3 separate regions of the Homo sapiens genome follow, and regions 1 and 2 are each linked to region 3. Evidence: promoter capture Hi-C in 16 types of primary human blood cells and fetal thymus (Javierre and others, 2016). All regions are on one chromosome and are shown on one strand. Each heading gives the region's core, a stretch centred on a gene start or on the middle of the fragment in contact. The rest is flanking DNA. Distances are from core to core; before and after follow the strand shown. Region 1 overlaps CHD2 (chromodomain helicase DNA binding protein 2). Region 2 overlaps CHD2 (chromodomain helicase DNA binding protein 2). Region 3 holds the start of CHASERR (CHD2 adjacent suppressive regulatory RNA).

What was found. The method cuts DNA at HindIII sites, captures the fragments that hold promoters and counts their contacts. A CHiCAGO score of 5 or more calls a contact.
Region 1: a contact is called between a fragment that was not itself captured here and the fragment with the promoter of CHASERR in region 3, in 9 of 17 cell types (naive B cells, total B cells, activated CD4 T cells and 6 more). The highest score is 12.1, in naive B cells.
Region 2: a contact is called between a fragment that was not itself captured here and the fragment with the promoter of CHASERR in region 3, in 10 of 17 cell types (naive B cells, total B cells, activated CD4 T cells and 7 more). The highest score is 10.7, in naive B cells.

The regions. Positions count from the first base shown.
Region 1 is chr15:92,984,002-92,988,609 of GRCh38, reverse strand. CHD2 (chromodomain helicase DNA binding protein 2) reads right to left here. Exons shown (of 39, transcript NM_001271.4): 25 at 4,110-4,280; 26 at 2,937-3,112. Among named protein-coding and RNA genes, the nearest start is that of MIR3175, 82 kb to the right of the region's middle. The HindIII fragment of the contact is 8,348 bases long and covers 1-4,608 here.
Region 2 is chr15:93,001,656-93,006,283 of GRCh38, reverse strand. CHD2 (chromodomain helicase DNA binding protein 2) reads right to left here. Exons shown (of 39, transcript NM_001271.4): 33 at 3,967-4,107; 34 at 1,533-1,667. Among named protein-coding and RNA genes, the nearest start is that of RGMA, 85 kb to the left of the region's middle. The HindIII fragment of the contact is 2,248 bases long and covers 1,975-4,222 here.
Region 3 is chr15:92,881,593-92,885,982 of GRCh38, reverse strand. CHASERR (CHD2 adjacent suppressive regulatory RNA) reads right to left here and starts at 3,140. Exons shown (of 6, transcript NR_037601.1): 1 at 2,797-3,140; 2 at 2,205-2,398; 3 at 399-468. RefSeq lists silencers at 2,414-2,663, 3,284-3,413 and enhancers at 2,657-3,298, 3,724-3,813. The HindIII fragment of the contact is 7,161 bases long and covers 6-4,390 here.

The DNA.
Region 1 (4,608 bases), core at 1,188-3,687, 100 kb before region 3:
CGAGCTAAGCCAAAATAGAGAATCCATTGTTAGCAGACCTGCCTCAAAATAAAATGCTAAAAGAGAGTCCTTTGGGCAGACATGAAAGGACATAAAATAGTAACTCAAATCACATGAAGAAATAAGAGCACCCATGGAATAATAGAGTAAGTAAATATAAAAACAGTATACATGCATTTTTGTAACTCTTTTCCTTCTATCTGATTTTAAAAGACAACTAACTAGGCTGGGTGTGGGTGGCTCACGCTTCTAATCCCAGCCCTTTGGGAGGCCGAGGCACACCGATCACCTGAGGTCAGAAGTTCAAGACCAGCCTGGCCAACATGGTGAAATCCCATCTCTACTAAAAATACAAAAATAATTAGCCAGCGTGGTGGCAGGAGCCAGTAATCTCAGCTACTTGGGAGGCTAAGGCAGGACAGTCACTTGAACCTGGGAAGTGGAGGTTGCAGTGGGCCGAGATTGCACCACTGTACCCCAGCCTTGGTGAGAAGAGCAAAACTCCGTCTCAAAAGAAAAAAAAAAAAGAGACAACTAACTATATAAAGTATGAATTATAAAACTGCATTGATGGGTTTAAAATGTGTAAAGATGTAATGTGCGACAACAGCACAAATGGGGATGGTGAGCTATAACTGGGGCAAAGTTTTTATAATGCCATTGAAATTAAATTGATGTTAATTCAAAGTAAATTGTTCTAAGATGTTACTTGTAATTTCTAGGGCAACCACTAAGAAAATAAGTGAAAAAAAAAGTTTTTTTTTTAAGGTAATTAAAATGGTATATTATATATTTAACACAAAGGAAAGTAGTAATGGGGAAATAAACAAAAAAAACATGACATATAGAAGACAAATAGCAAAATGCAGACATAATTCCTACTTTATAATAACTGCATTAAATGTAAATAGATTAAATACTGCAATCAAAAAAAAGAGATTGGCAGAAAAAATATTTTTAAAAAATTTTAAGATACCATCTTTTTTTTTTTTTCCTTCTTCTTTTAGAGAGTTTTGCTCTGTCACCCAGGCTGGAGTTTAGTGGTGCCATCTCGGCTCACTGCAAACCTTGGCCTCCTGGGTTCAAGCAATTCTCGTGCCTCAGCCTCAGCCTCCCAAGTACCTGGGACTGCAGGTGTGTACCACCACACCTGGCTAATTTTTTGTATTTTTAGTAGAGAGAGGGTTTCGCCATGTTGAGACCATGCTGGTCTCAAACTCCTAGGCTCCAGCGATCTGCCTGCCTTGGCCTCCCAAAGTGCTGGGATTACAGGCGTGAACCACCATGCCTGGCCAAATACCATTTTTTAAAATTTCAAATACCCAAAAAGAAAGCTGGAGTGGCTATACTAATATCAAACTGAAAATAGGAATTAAAACAAAAATTGTTACTACAGACAGAAATACATGTTACAATAAAAAGGCCAATCAAGACCTATCGATTATAAAAAATATATACAATTAATAAGAGTCCAAAAACACATGAAGCAAAAACTAACAATTGAAGAACAAATGGATCATATAAGAGTAACAGAGATGTCAACATCCCATTTTCAATAATGGGTAGAACAACTAGGCTGCGCACGGTGGCTCAGGCCTATAATCCCAACACTTTGGGAGGCTGAAGCAGGAGGATACTTGAGGCCAGGAGTCTGAGACCAGCCTGGGCAACATAATGAAACCTTGTCTCTACCAAAAAAAAAAATTTTTAATTAGCCAGACATGGTGGCACATGCCTGTAGACCTGGCTACCTGGGAGGCTGAGTGAAAAAGGCACTCAGGCAGGAGGATCACTTGAGCCCAGGAGTGTGAGGTTACAGTGAGATAGGATCATACTCCAGCCTGTGCAAGAGAGCAAGATTCTGACTCTACCAAAATAACCACAACTATACAGAAAATCAATGAAGAAATTAAAGACCTGAAAAACACTAAGCCAAATACAGCTATAGAACATACTGCCCCATAGCAGAAAACACATTCTTCTCAAAATAATACTGGGAATAGGGAGCAAGAAGAGGTGGGGTGTGTATATATACATACAATTTTGGCTACAAATTCAAAATTGTTAAGATGATAAGCACAAGAGGGGATGTGTTACATGCTATTCTGTCAGTATTTTGAAATATTTCTATTTTTCCATAGTAAATTAAACAAAGAAAGAAGAATAGGTGTGACCTTTAAGTGAAAAGAAACACCTCACAGTTTCAAATACATGAAACTTAAAGGACTATTTAATATAATTATAATATGGATTAGGCCTTAAAACCATCTTTATACTTTCTATTTTCTTCAGGCTTAAAAAAAAAAGATGGAAACTGGAAAAAAAATAATTTGTAAGCAACAATTTTAGATTTTTTTATGGAGGATAGAGACATTTGAATCAGATACCAAGAAATGTATAGTAATCACTCACATAGAAAGATGTCTAAAATGGATTTTAAATGGGATCGGGGAAAGCAAGGTGCTGAACAACATGCTGTACATACTACTTATAAATCAAAGCAAACCACTAGCAAACTGATGTCAGTACTAACACAGGTGGAAGTGGGATTGTGGCGGAGGGGAGAGGTAGTGAGGGTAGACTTATTTGTACCATTTTTATTTTTGATATTTCTTTTATATACAGATACATAAGTCTGTATATACATGTATGTCAATTATCTCCTTCCCCGAGCTGAACTTTGTGAAAATGTTCTGAATAACCAGAGAATAAGAGAGAAATAGAGAGATGAACAACAAATAAAAGTGATCTCAACAGAAAGAAACCTTGGAGAAGGAAGGATCATCCTACAGATCTGGGACAGGACCCAGCTTCTCTTTCCTTTTTTGTAGGTATTAGCCTCTGCCTACCCTGTCACGATGTCCAGGATCCAGTCAACCCAAGACTTACAGTACGCACTTTCAAACAAGCTCAGTGAGAACAGAGCCTCCACCAACCTTCGGATCTCTGCATCAGTAAATCCCTCCACGAGGTCCTTCCGCACACTCCTCGGACGCCCTCTGCGCTTTGGCTTCTTGTCATCATCAGAGTCTTCCGTTTCACTCTCAGAAGCAGAGGATCTCTGGGCCTGCCTCTTAGACTCAGTGTCAGAGTCACTGTCATTTGTCTGAGCCTGAGAAAGATCGAGGCAAAGTCACACTGTAACAAGTGCGAAGTTCAAGTGGTGAAAGGACTAAGAGAAGGCCATCTTAATTCTTTAGTATTCAGAACTTCTCACCATATCAGACAAGTCAATTTTCCTTTGACAAATAAGGGGAGACAGGTCTTGGAGAAATACCCACTTAGGACAGTCATACTTTCAGAGACATTGTAATATAACGATAAGTGAACTGGATTAAAAATATATGAATATTTTTACAATATCCCATTATAAAACAGGTTCATGTTTACTCCTTTGGGCAAGTAATTTTACTCTTTGTGCCTTTATTTTCTCATTTGAAAAATGAAGACAATAGTACCTATAACAGATGGTTTTCAGTAAGTTAAAGCACTTAGAAGTATGCCTAGCACATTGTAAGGGCTCAATAAATGGTAGCTAGTGTTACCTCATACTGATTTACTGTGACCTTGAACAAATCTGTGTCTATTACCTCCAACAAAATGGGTAAAAAAACTTGTTCTACCTATTTCAATGTTGTTACAAAAATCAAATTAGATAGTGTCTGTGATGGAGCTTTGTGAACTGTCAAGTTGGTATATGTTTCTTATTTATAGTTATATAATCCTTTACTAAGTATTTATATCAAGTGCTGTGAACTGTTATGGACAAACAGAGGTGTGACTTTCTGAAAGTTGAAGGCAGTGGCAATTAACAGCCAAACTGTGAGGACTACTCAAAGGCAAAATGCAAACTTCTGGAAATTTCAGACCCTGTTTATCAGCTTCACAAAGAGCCAATTTGCAAAGACCAAATCCGATGTCTCACAGGTGTGCTCAGGAGCTCTGCAGATTTCTCCACTTTCCTTTGTTAAGTTTCCTACAGTATCAACTCTGCTCCTGAAGCCTCTGTGTCAGGGGAACAATGCAAGGCCTCTTCTTTGAATAATCAACACTTCTGTAGCATTCACAACATAAGAAATAATTTCATATCTTTCATCTCACTTGATCACCTTTTTAGTGGAACTCCGAATTCGAGGCAGCATATAAATTTCTTCTAGCTCCTTCTGCCGCTCTTCCTCCTCTACTTTTTTCCTTTGTTCCTCTGGAATGATCTCATCCCAGTCCTTGTGAGGACGCTCTTCTAGCTCTTCTTCATCTTCCATTGTTGCAAAGTTGGCAACCTTAAAACAGACAACCCATTGTCTGACATTTCCCTATTTCTAAACACCATCTACTAAAACAATTTATCCAGTGTTTTTATCTAAGTAGACACTGTGAATAATAGGACTTTTGTGATATTACATAATCAGATAATCAATTTTCTATTAATTTTTCCTTTATACCCCCAAAAATCAACTTGTCAAGTCCTCAAGTTCATCACATCATAAATTTTACTGAAAAGCAGAGAAACAGCTACAAAGATACAAATTGTTTTTATAAGTTTTATTGAATGAGCTGTTATAAATCATATACATGTTCTAATAAATATAATACTAATGATAAAATTTA
Region 2 (4,628 bases), core at 1,849-4,348, 120 kb before region 3:
GTGGTGGTGCGCATCTGTAATCCCAGCTACTCAGGAGGCTGAGGCAGGAGAACTGCTTGAACCGGAGAGGCAGAGGCTGCACTGAGCCGAGATTGAGCCACTGCAATCCAGCCTGGGCAACAGAGCAAGACTCTGCCTCAAAAAAAAAAAAAAAAAAAAGAGAGAGAGAGACAGAAAAAGCATAGGTTGAGAGGGAGGAACACCAAGGGATTCAGCTTTATATTTTGAGTCTTAAAAAAATTCAGATTTGACAAAACTTCATGGTATATTTATCAATGACTATTATATCCCTGAAATTTCTCTGCATCTTTTAAAGATTTCATAATATAAAAACAAGATTAAATGAGTCATTTGTAAGAGCATTTTTTAAATATCATGGTACCATAGAACATTAGATATCATTTTCTCTTATAAACACTCGGAAAAGAAAGACTAGGAAACAGATTGGTTAGCTGGCTATGTAATTAGTTTATTCATTTATTCAATTTACTCATTTATTGATATACTTCTAGCATCTAAATGACCTTTATATAAAACAATACTTGTCCTCAGAGAGCTCACAGGCAAAAAAGAGACTTAAGAAAACAGAGTTAAGTGCAAAGAAAACAATATCTATATACATACGTGTATAGGTTTTAGAGAACTCAGAGAAAGAAGTCAGAGAGAGGTTACAGGACAGGGTCAACAGGGTCCTTTGCTGCCACAGGATGGAAGTATTTTCAAATTTGAAAGAAAACCGCTTTTTCTTTCAGCCTGAATGAGCCGTTTGATTAATGGATTTGTGGAAGTATGGGGAGAAGAGACCACAGAGAGGTGGGGAAGGGATGGTGGCACAGTGAAATCTATACCTGCAGCTCCAGCCAGGGGCAAAGGGACCTTGAGGACACACTGGCCTGTATCCAATCCCGTGCAAGACCTGGTCCATGCACTCGCTCCCCATCGCCTTGCCCTCCCCTCTTCTCCTGTTACCTTTTATTCTTCCTTCAGAACCCAACTCAAACATCACTTCCTTACACAAGCCCTCCTGGCAACCCCTGACTAGGTCAAATTCCCTTCTCACAGGATCTCCACAGTATGCACTCTCTCTCCTCCAGAGCCCTGTCACAGGGGCACCAACATGATTTGTGTAGTTATCTAACTCCCCTACTCCAATGTACAGTTTACGATGATAGAAATGGTTATCTATTCAACATGGTAACTCTGGGGGCTGGAACACAGAAAACATTCAATAAATACTTGCTCAGTGAACACTTCTCTTTCCCAAATGCCTCTAAGGGCCCTGAGAGCCTCTCTTAACTAGGAGCACAAGACATGAAATCCACTCCTTAAACTTCCCCTCAATAAAAGACAAGAAAATCTCTTCCTGCCAGCCTGCTGAAGAGCACATGGTCTTCCGATACTGTAAGCAATGTGTTTCCCAAGTAATGTACTATTGCTTAGCTCAACTGAAGCTCTGGCTGGACCTATAAAAGGCAGAGCCACAGCAAGTACCGCGGCTGCAGACACTGGCACCCCCCGATTTCAAGACTTACTATGCTGAATGTCTCCTGGTCCAGATCATCATCCTCATCCTCTCCAATGGGGACAGGTTCACTTCCTGCTGTAATATGGACAGGACCCTGAGATCGCTTTGATTTACTCGAAGATTTGGCATCACCACTTTTAGGCTTTTAAAAAAGAGTTACAAGGAGTCATTGTCATTTGTGCAATCCTACCGTGCGATTTAGGTTTCTTACCTATGTTGTGTTATTAAAATGGGTAAATATGATGGTCTCAGTTTATTTTTTAAAAAGTAAAATAAAATCCTGAAACATCATGAAGACAAACCTGTCTGATTAGCAGCTTACTCACACATTATTCCCATTTCCATCTCTAAATGTACCCAATTATAACTTCAATTTCATCAGTGCTATTTTTGGGCTTCTTACTCCTTTATCCATAAAATGCACAGAAATGTCATCAAGAGGTTAAGCTTGTAAATTGGCAGAACTCTCTAGAGTATCATGTAGCAACCTTTATTAACAGCATACCCTTTGGTTTAGGAATCTGTATTAACTACATTATTGTAAATGAACTCTATACAAATCTCAATTACATTGAAGGAAAGGTTGCAGAAGAATATATAAAATGACTTCAGGTACTTTTTTTTTTTTTTTTTTTGAGACAGATTCTCGCTCTGTCATCCTGGCCGGAGTGCAGCGTCATGATCTCGGCTCACTGCAACCTCTGCCTCCTGGGTTCAAGAGATTCTTCTGCCTCAGCCTCCCAAGTAGCTCAGATTACAGGCGCACGCCACCACACCCAGCTATTTTTTGTATTTTTAGTACAGACGGGGTTTCACCATGTTGTCCAGGCAGGTCTCAAACTCCTGACCTTGTGATCTGTCCACCTCGGCCTCCCAAAGTGCTGGGATTACAAGTGTGAGCCACTGCGCCTAGCTTGACTTCATGTACATTTTTAAGCATACAGTATGCTTTGTTTATAGTTATATGGATATACACTATAATATGTACTACAAATATAAAAACATGAACAGGAAGGTTTCGGACCCACTTCACAGTAGTGGTTATGGGGAAAACAGAGGAAGAGTAATAAAATCAGGGAAAGGGAACAGGGGGCAGCTTCAACAGTATCAGTCATATGTTCATGAAATACAAAAGATATCAGCGTCTCCCCCCGCCTGGCCCCGCCAAAAAAAAAAAAAAAGCCACTTAAAGTAAACATGAAAAAATATTAACAACAGTTGTGGTATCTGGAGAGTGGATAAACAGATGTTTGCTAAAATTGCTCTTTTTTTATTTTTTTAATATTTTACTTTAAGAAAAATAATGTCTTTCTGTGGGAGCACAAATGCACAGGTTATTTATCACAGTATGGTCTATTAACATCAAAAATTAGAAAGTATTTCAAAATGGGAAATTCAAATTGCTTCTAACATGTTACACCCAAACAGAATCCTCCCCAACTATTAAAAATGATTTTTTTTTTTTTTTTTTTGAGACAAGGTCTTCCTCTGTTGCCCAAGCTGGAGTGAAGTGTGACACAACCATGGCTCACTGCAGCCTCGAGCTCCTGGGCCTAAGCAATCCTCTCACCTCTGCCTCCCATGCAACTGGGCCCGTAGGCACATGCCGCAATGCCCAGCTAGATTTTTGCTTGTTTTTATTTTGTAGAGACGAGGTCTCCCTACGTTGCCAAGGCTGTAAAAATGACTTTAACATTTAATCACTTGGAAAGTTGTGATATACTGCTAAGTGAGGAGGAAAAACTACCCAAACAGCCTAATCTGATTTTTATATTTGTTCTTAAATAGAAGTTTATTTTATATTTAATATAAAATTTCAAAGTAAAAGTTTCAAAGGCACTTATCAAGAAATCTATTAGAGTTATCAACTGGATATTAGAATTACAGCAGTTGTTTGTGTTTTGGCAATGATTTTACTGTGTTCAGAGGTCAGCAAGTATACACTGCAACACTGTACCAAATTCTTTGGTTTAGAATGAACTTCATAAAACCCCTAATGTAAAGGTTATAATAGCAAGGCTTTTCATCCATTTATATTCCAATAACTCTTGCTAATATTTGTTTTTGACTCAAACTCTTCAAGTATTCAAATTCAGTTGTGGATTGTGCTCCTCTAATATGAATCTGAGAACGTATTTCGTATTTACATGTAAATGCCGATTTCTCTCACCTGTCCTATCTCATTCAAACATTTCCCCCTGAAATATGTCATAAAAGACCAAGTAAAGGCCTTCTTTTTTAAAGAACACCCCAAACTTGCAGGTTCCCCTCTCTCTGCAAGGACAGGTGCAGGTATCCCATCAACGGCCCCACCCATCCTTCTTGAACATACCCATAAAAAGACAATTATTCCAGGGCCCTCAAATCTCATTCTACTTCTAAATCCAAATGGCGAATTGCAAAGGCTGTGGATATCTGCATGAACAGAAGGGCATCATTACCTTCTCTTTCTTATCTTTTGACTTCTTTCTTTCCTTGTCCCCTTCTTTGTCTTTCCTAGAACTCATTTGTTTCTCCTTGTTCTCCTTGTTCTCTTTCTTCTTCTGTTTTTTTTTCATTGGACTTTTTTCCAAGCCATCATCCTAGGAAACAAAACAGGGCTATGAATTTTTGCTACAAATTTTATATCTACTTATGTACTTTCTGGAAAAAGAAGCACTGCCCCCAGTGGTTCATCACTGTCTATACTTAGAAGCTTGTTTTCAAGCAAATAGCCTCAAGGGACTCAGAGAAGTCTAAACTTTCCAGTAATAACCAGTTACAACTGTAGAGGCAGAAGCTCTTTACTGATATCCTCTCATTTAATTCTCATAGCAACCCTTCAACGTAAGTTTATTATTCTCATTTCACGGATGGAAACTGAGTACCAAAGAGATTATATACCTATACAAAGTCAGCTAATAACTGATTAGGTTGCTAGTATTTAAATGTACGTATGTATTGGCCAGGCACAGTGGCTCATGCTCATAATTCCAGCACTTTGGGAGGCTGAGGCAGACCTGTCACCTGAGGTCAGGAGTTTGACACCAGCCTGGCCAACATGGTGAAACCCTGTCTCTTCTAAAAATACAAAAACTAGCCAGGTGTGGTGGCAGGTGCCTGT
Region 3 (4,390 bases), core at 1,891-4,390:
AAGCTTATTTCTTTAAATACTTAAAAGATTAAAATTGTTTGCACAATATACAGAGTTAAACAGAAAAAAAAAGCTATCTTTGGTTCATGGTTTTCCTCAAAATCTAATCAGTCTTCTCTTGTTCCCAAAATTAAACAAAGGCTTAAAGGACCTTCAGTATTTTAAACTATTCAAAGGGTACATTAAGTTACAATGGCTATGCGTATATACTTTTAATCTTTCCTGCAGTGAAAAGGCTTAAAGGCTTTTGTCAAATTATTTGATAGTTTACTCATATTCATAATCACAACTTTTAAAAATGATACCCATTCATTAATTGAAATGTAAATTATTAAAGATAAAACAAAAGCCTAATAAGCTAATTTTTGTCAAAACAATAAAAATTAACCCACTCTTACCTCAAATAAAAGAACTCATTATTTGTTCAGAACCAACAGCAACCAAATTAATTTTAATCTCTTAAGTCACCTTTAAAAAAAAGAAGAAAGATGATATTAATGTTTTGATTTTCAAGCATTTCTTGGCCAACGATTCAGTGTGATGAAACAAGAAAATATTCCACAGACAAAAATCTATGGGCAAACTGAAGAGATGGCTCATGGACACATAACCTGTATACATTTATGGTTGCAGTTATTTCTTATCTTAGTATCTATCAGTCTTTGTTTTCCTCATCTTTTGGCTGTATTGACCAATGCTAAAGATTAACGCATTGAATTAAACAGAAATACAGAAAATTCAAATTTTTGGACTGATTTAAGATTATGAACCTTTTTTTTTTTACTTTCCCTCTTTTTATGACAGGCAATAAACAAAGAAAAAGTTTACCATTCTTCAAGACAAATCATCTTAACATCTCCCTTACCATCCGGAAGTATGTTTTACAATCATGAGCAATTAAAAATTAGCTCCTCCAAGAGAAATTAGTGAAGTTAAAATGGCCACTGGTTACTTTAAATTTTAAACCACAAGTTACTTGATCTCACCAAGTGGGATACTAGCTTTGTCTCTAAAGCTACTCTAAAACTTACAGTATCTAGACCTTTACACTCAATTTCAAATCAGGGTCTTCAACATTTTCATTTCAGTCTTTCTCCTCCCCCATTTATCATGTAAAAAGATCTTTCAGGTTAAACTGCTAACAATTATTTTGCATTTCACAATTCAAAGAGGATTCTAAAGAACTAGATTCAGAATATTCATTTAAAACCACTTTCAGTGTTCAAAAATTTCAGAAACATTGATTTGAAAAACCAAAATTGGTACTTAAGACAGATTCTGTAAAATCAAGATATGCGCAACTGATGTAACATGTACCACTATAGGAAGGCTACTCAAAAAATAAAACAATTTTACTGGAAAAATGCCCTTAGAAATATGGTCGAATAAACCAGTATCTGATTTCAGATGTACTATGTAAGTCTGCCCAACACTATTTTTACGTAGTTCTGCACCTTTACAACACAAGAGCTCCGCAGAATGAAGACAAATATATTCTAAAATACACAAAGGTTTGTGCGCTTCTGGTTTGTTCTTCAAACCACTACACTTAAAAATTACCCTTCCAACATTTTTCTAAGATTAGAGACTATACAGAGAACTCTACTAAATTTTATGAAACCTGTACTTTTAAAATACTGTTCCGTTTTAAGCATATCTAGATTTTTATACATGCAACAAATGCAACAAATATGGCTCCTCTTCATCGCCCATTACCGAGAGCAGTCCTACTTTATTCATATTTACATTACGAGAAAGTAACTTCAGGAAGAGATTTGGTGTCAGAATGTTCTTTTGTGAAAGTTTTTCGATCATGGCTTGTGATAATATAAATTCTTAAAAATAATTAAATTATGAACTTTTAAAGACTAGGAATTGACCCAAGTACGTTCTAACATTCAGGTGTGAGAAGTTGCAGATAACGGCTCCTTGAGACCTTTTTAAAAAGTACCAAACAGTGTATTTAATCATATTTAAATATCAGGAGATCAAATGATCTTGGCGTCATTACTCGGTAAAATAAACTACATTAACCAAACGTCATCAGCTAGCTAGCACCGTAATTATCAAATCTATTTCCATTAAACAGCCTTGACGACACAGTAAACTTGTCTTCGTAATTCTGAAATACCAGAAGCACTCCTCCAACTTGCATTTTTCAAAGACAACCTTAACGTCATAAAGGTTTAATAAGCAGCAAGTACCTTCGCATGTATCACTGCAGCCGTTTCAAAATCGGCTTTGAAAGAGTTAAAAGCCAACACCCAATAGGAGGGAAAAAAACAAGTTTTATTTTTGTTGAAACGTAGTCAGGGTTCCATTGTTCTTTTAAATTCGATCATGAAGATGAGTTCCCACCTCACCGGAAAGAGGTTAAAAAGCTCCTCCGTTGGAGAACCTGAAAGGGATTTTTTTACCCTAAATATCAAAATAACTCACCAGGACAGAAAGGGGCTCTCCACGCCCGATCCCCTTCGGGCTCTCGCCGGCATTCACCCGCCGCCCCTTTCCCGGCGGATCCAGTCCCGGCGACGAGGCTGCCCCCCGCCCACCTGCCGCCCGCGGGCTCTGCAGCGGGGCCCCGCGTGCCCCCTACCCCAGGACCCTACGACTCGGGCCCAGGGCACCGAGGCGCATCCCGCCGGCGAGAGCCGGCCCCCGACCACGGAGGGGCAGTGCGAGAAGAGCCGAGCGGCGAGGCCCGGCCCGCCGCCCCCTCCTGCTCGCGCGCTCAAGGACATTTTGCTTTTCCTCCCAAGGACAAAGGACAATAAAAGGAGCTAGGGAGCCACTCACCGGGTCCGAGCGCGGCCACCGGCACCTCCTGGTCGCCCAAACCCGAGTCCCGGGCCGGACCGCCCGCCCGAGCCTCCCGCCCGCGCCGGGTCCAGCCGCCGGGGCCCGGGGGAGCCTCCGAGGCGGCAACCGCAGCGGCGCTTTCGGCGTCGTGGGCCCGGCCGCCCTGGGCGCCTCTGCCGCGGGCTGTGACGCCGACGCGCGCGGCCCGCCTCGCCTCAGCCGCGGCAGCCCCACTCCCGCGGGCCTGCTGGCCGTCCGGGCGTAGCTCCCCGCCGGCCGGCGGGCCTCGCGGCCGCGGCGGAACGCCTGACAGCTCGGGGTGCTGCTGCCTCTCCGGCCATCTTGTGCCGTGTGTGTGGTGTCTCTCTCCCGTCTCCTCTCTAGGCTTTACTCCCTCCTCCTCCTCCCCCCGCCCCACACACCACACAACATGGCCTCTTCGCTGCGGCGGCAGCGGCTGCGGCGGCGGCAGGAGCTCCGCCGCGCTCCAGCCCGCTCCCCTCCCCCACCATCCCCGCCTCCCGCCCGCAGGCCCGGGGGCCAACGCGCACGCGCGCCGCCGCCCGCCCGCCGCGGCCATTGGCTCCACGAGCTTCCTGCATCCCCTATCCGGGAGCGGCCTCACGCACGTTAGCTGGCGTCTTCCTCCCTCCCAACAACAACTTCTTCCATTCTATTGGTTAATTTCAACACCACCCCTTCCGCCTCCTTCGTGCGGATAGGCTGGCCTTAGTGCCATTCACTGTCCGTAGGCGTTTCTGGTTTTCTTGAGAAGCCCCGGGCCACGATTGGCTGGTGATGGAACCTTTGGGGTTGGAGCTGAGCTGTTGCTTTTTTCCCCGCAGTGCGGACCCCTCCAGGCTAGCTGGAGGGTTCCTGGTATGGTCTAGGCCAGGCTAGAATGGTTAGTGCAGGGTCGCACAAATAGTGGATTCGCGTCTAGAAAAAGCTCTGGCTTCGGTGTTTCTAGGTTCAGATTTTGTCTTTAAAAAAAGGGAAAGAAAAAAATGACTGACAGGATGATGAGCAAACAAGATACAGGCCCACAGCCCTTGGGCAAGCAGCCATATCCTCAAAATATTTGTTCTAAGCACCCAGGCCTTCCATGAAGGTCACACAGTCAGGACCAATGGTTTTACCATCAGCACATTCCCTAGCCCCAGTATCCGAGTTGAGATGCGATTTATTTGTGGATTTGTAGACTGCCTGTTGCGCATTTACCTGAGAGCCTAAAAGAATGTCTAGTGTCTTGTGAGCTGTCGTCATGGAAATCAAAAAAAACAATTAAAAAGAATGTCCAGTGTCCTGAGGCCTTAGCGAATCAATCTCAATACCGGTTGACTGGATTCCACCCTGTAGGACAATGTTTGTTAGAGTAGCAGTTTGAACCTGAAAAATCATAGTCTACCTTTTCAACCTCCTTCCAGAGAACCAGGCAAAACAAGTTTCATTTGCTTTCGGCAAATCTCACTTTTTTTTCGTTACTTCTTCCTACTTTAACGTGGAAACAACTCTAAGAAGACCATAGGAAAAAAATGAAAACCTAAACTTTCCTGAAATGGATGGGGAAAAAAAAAAGAGGTAGCTCTCT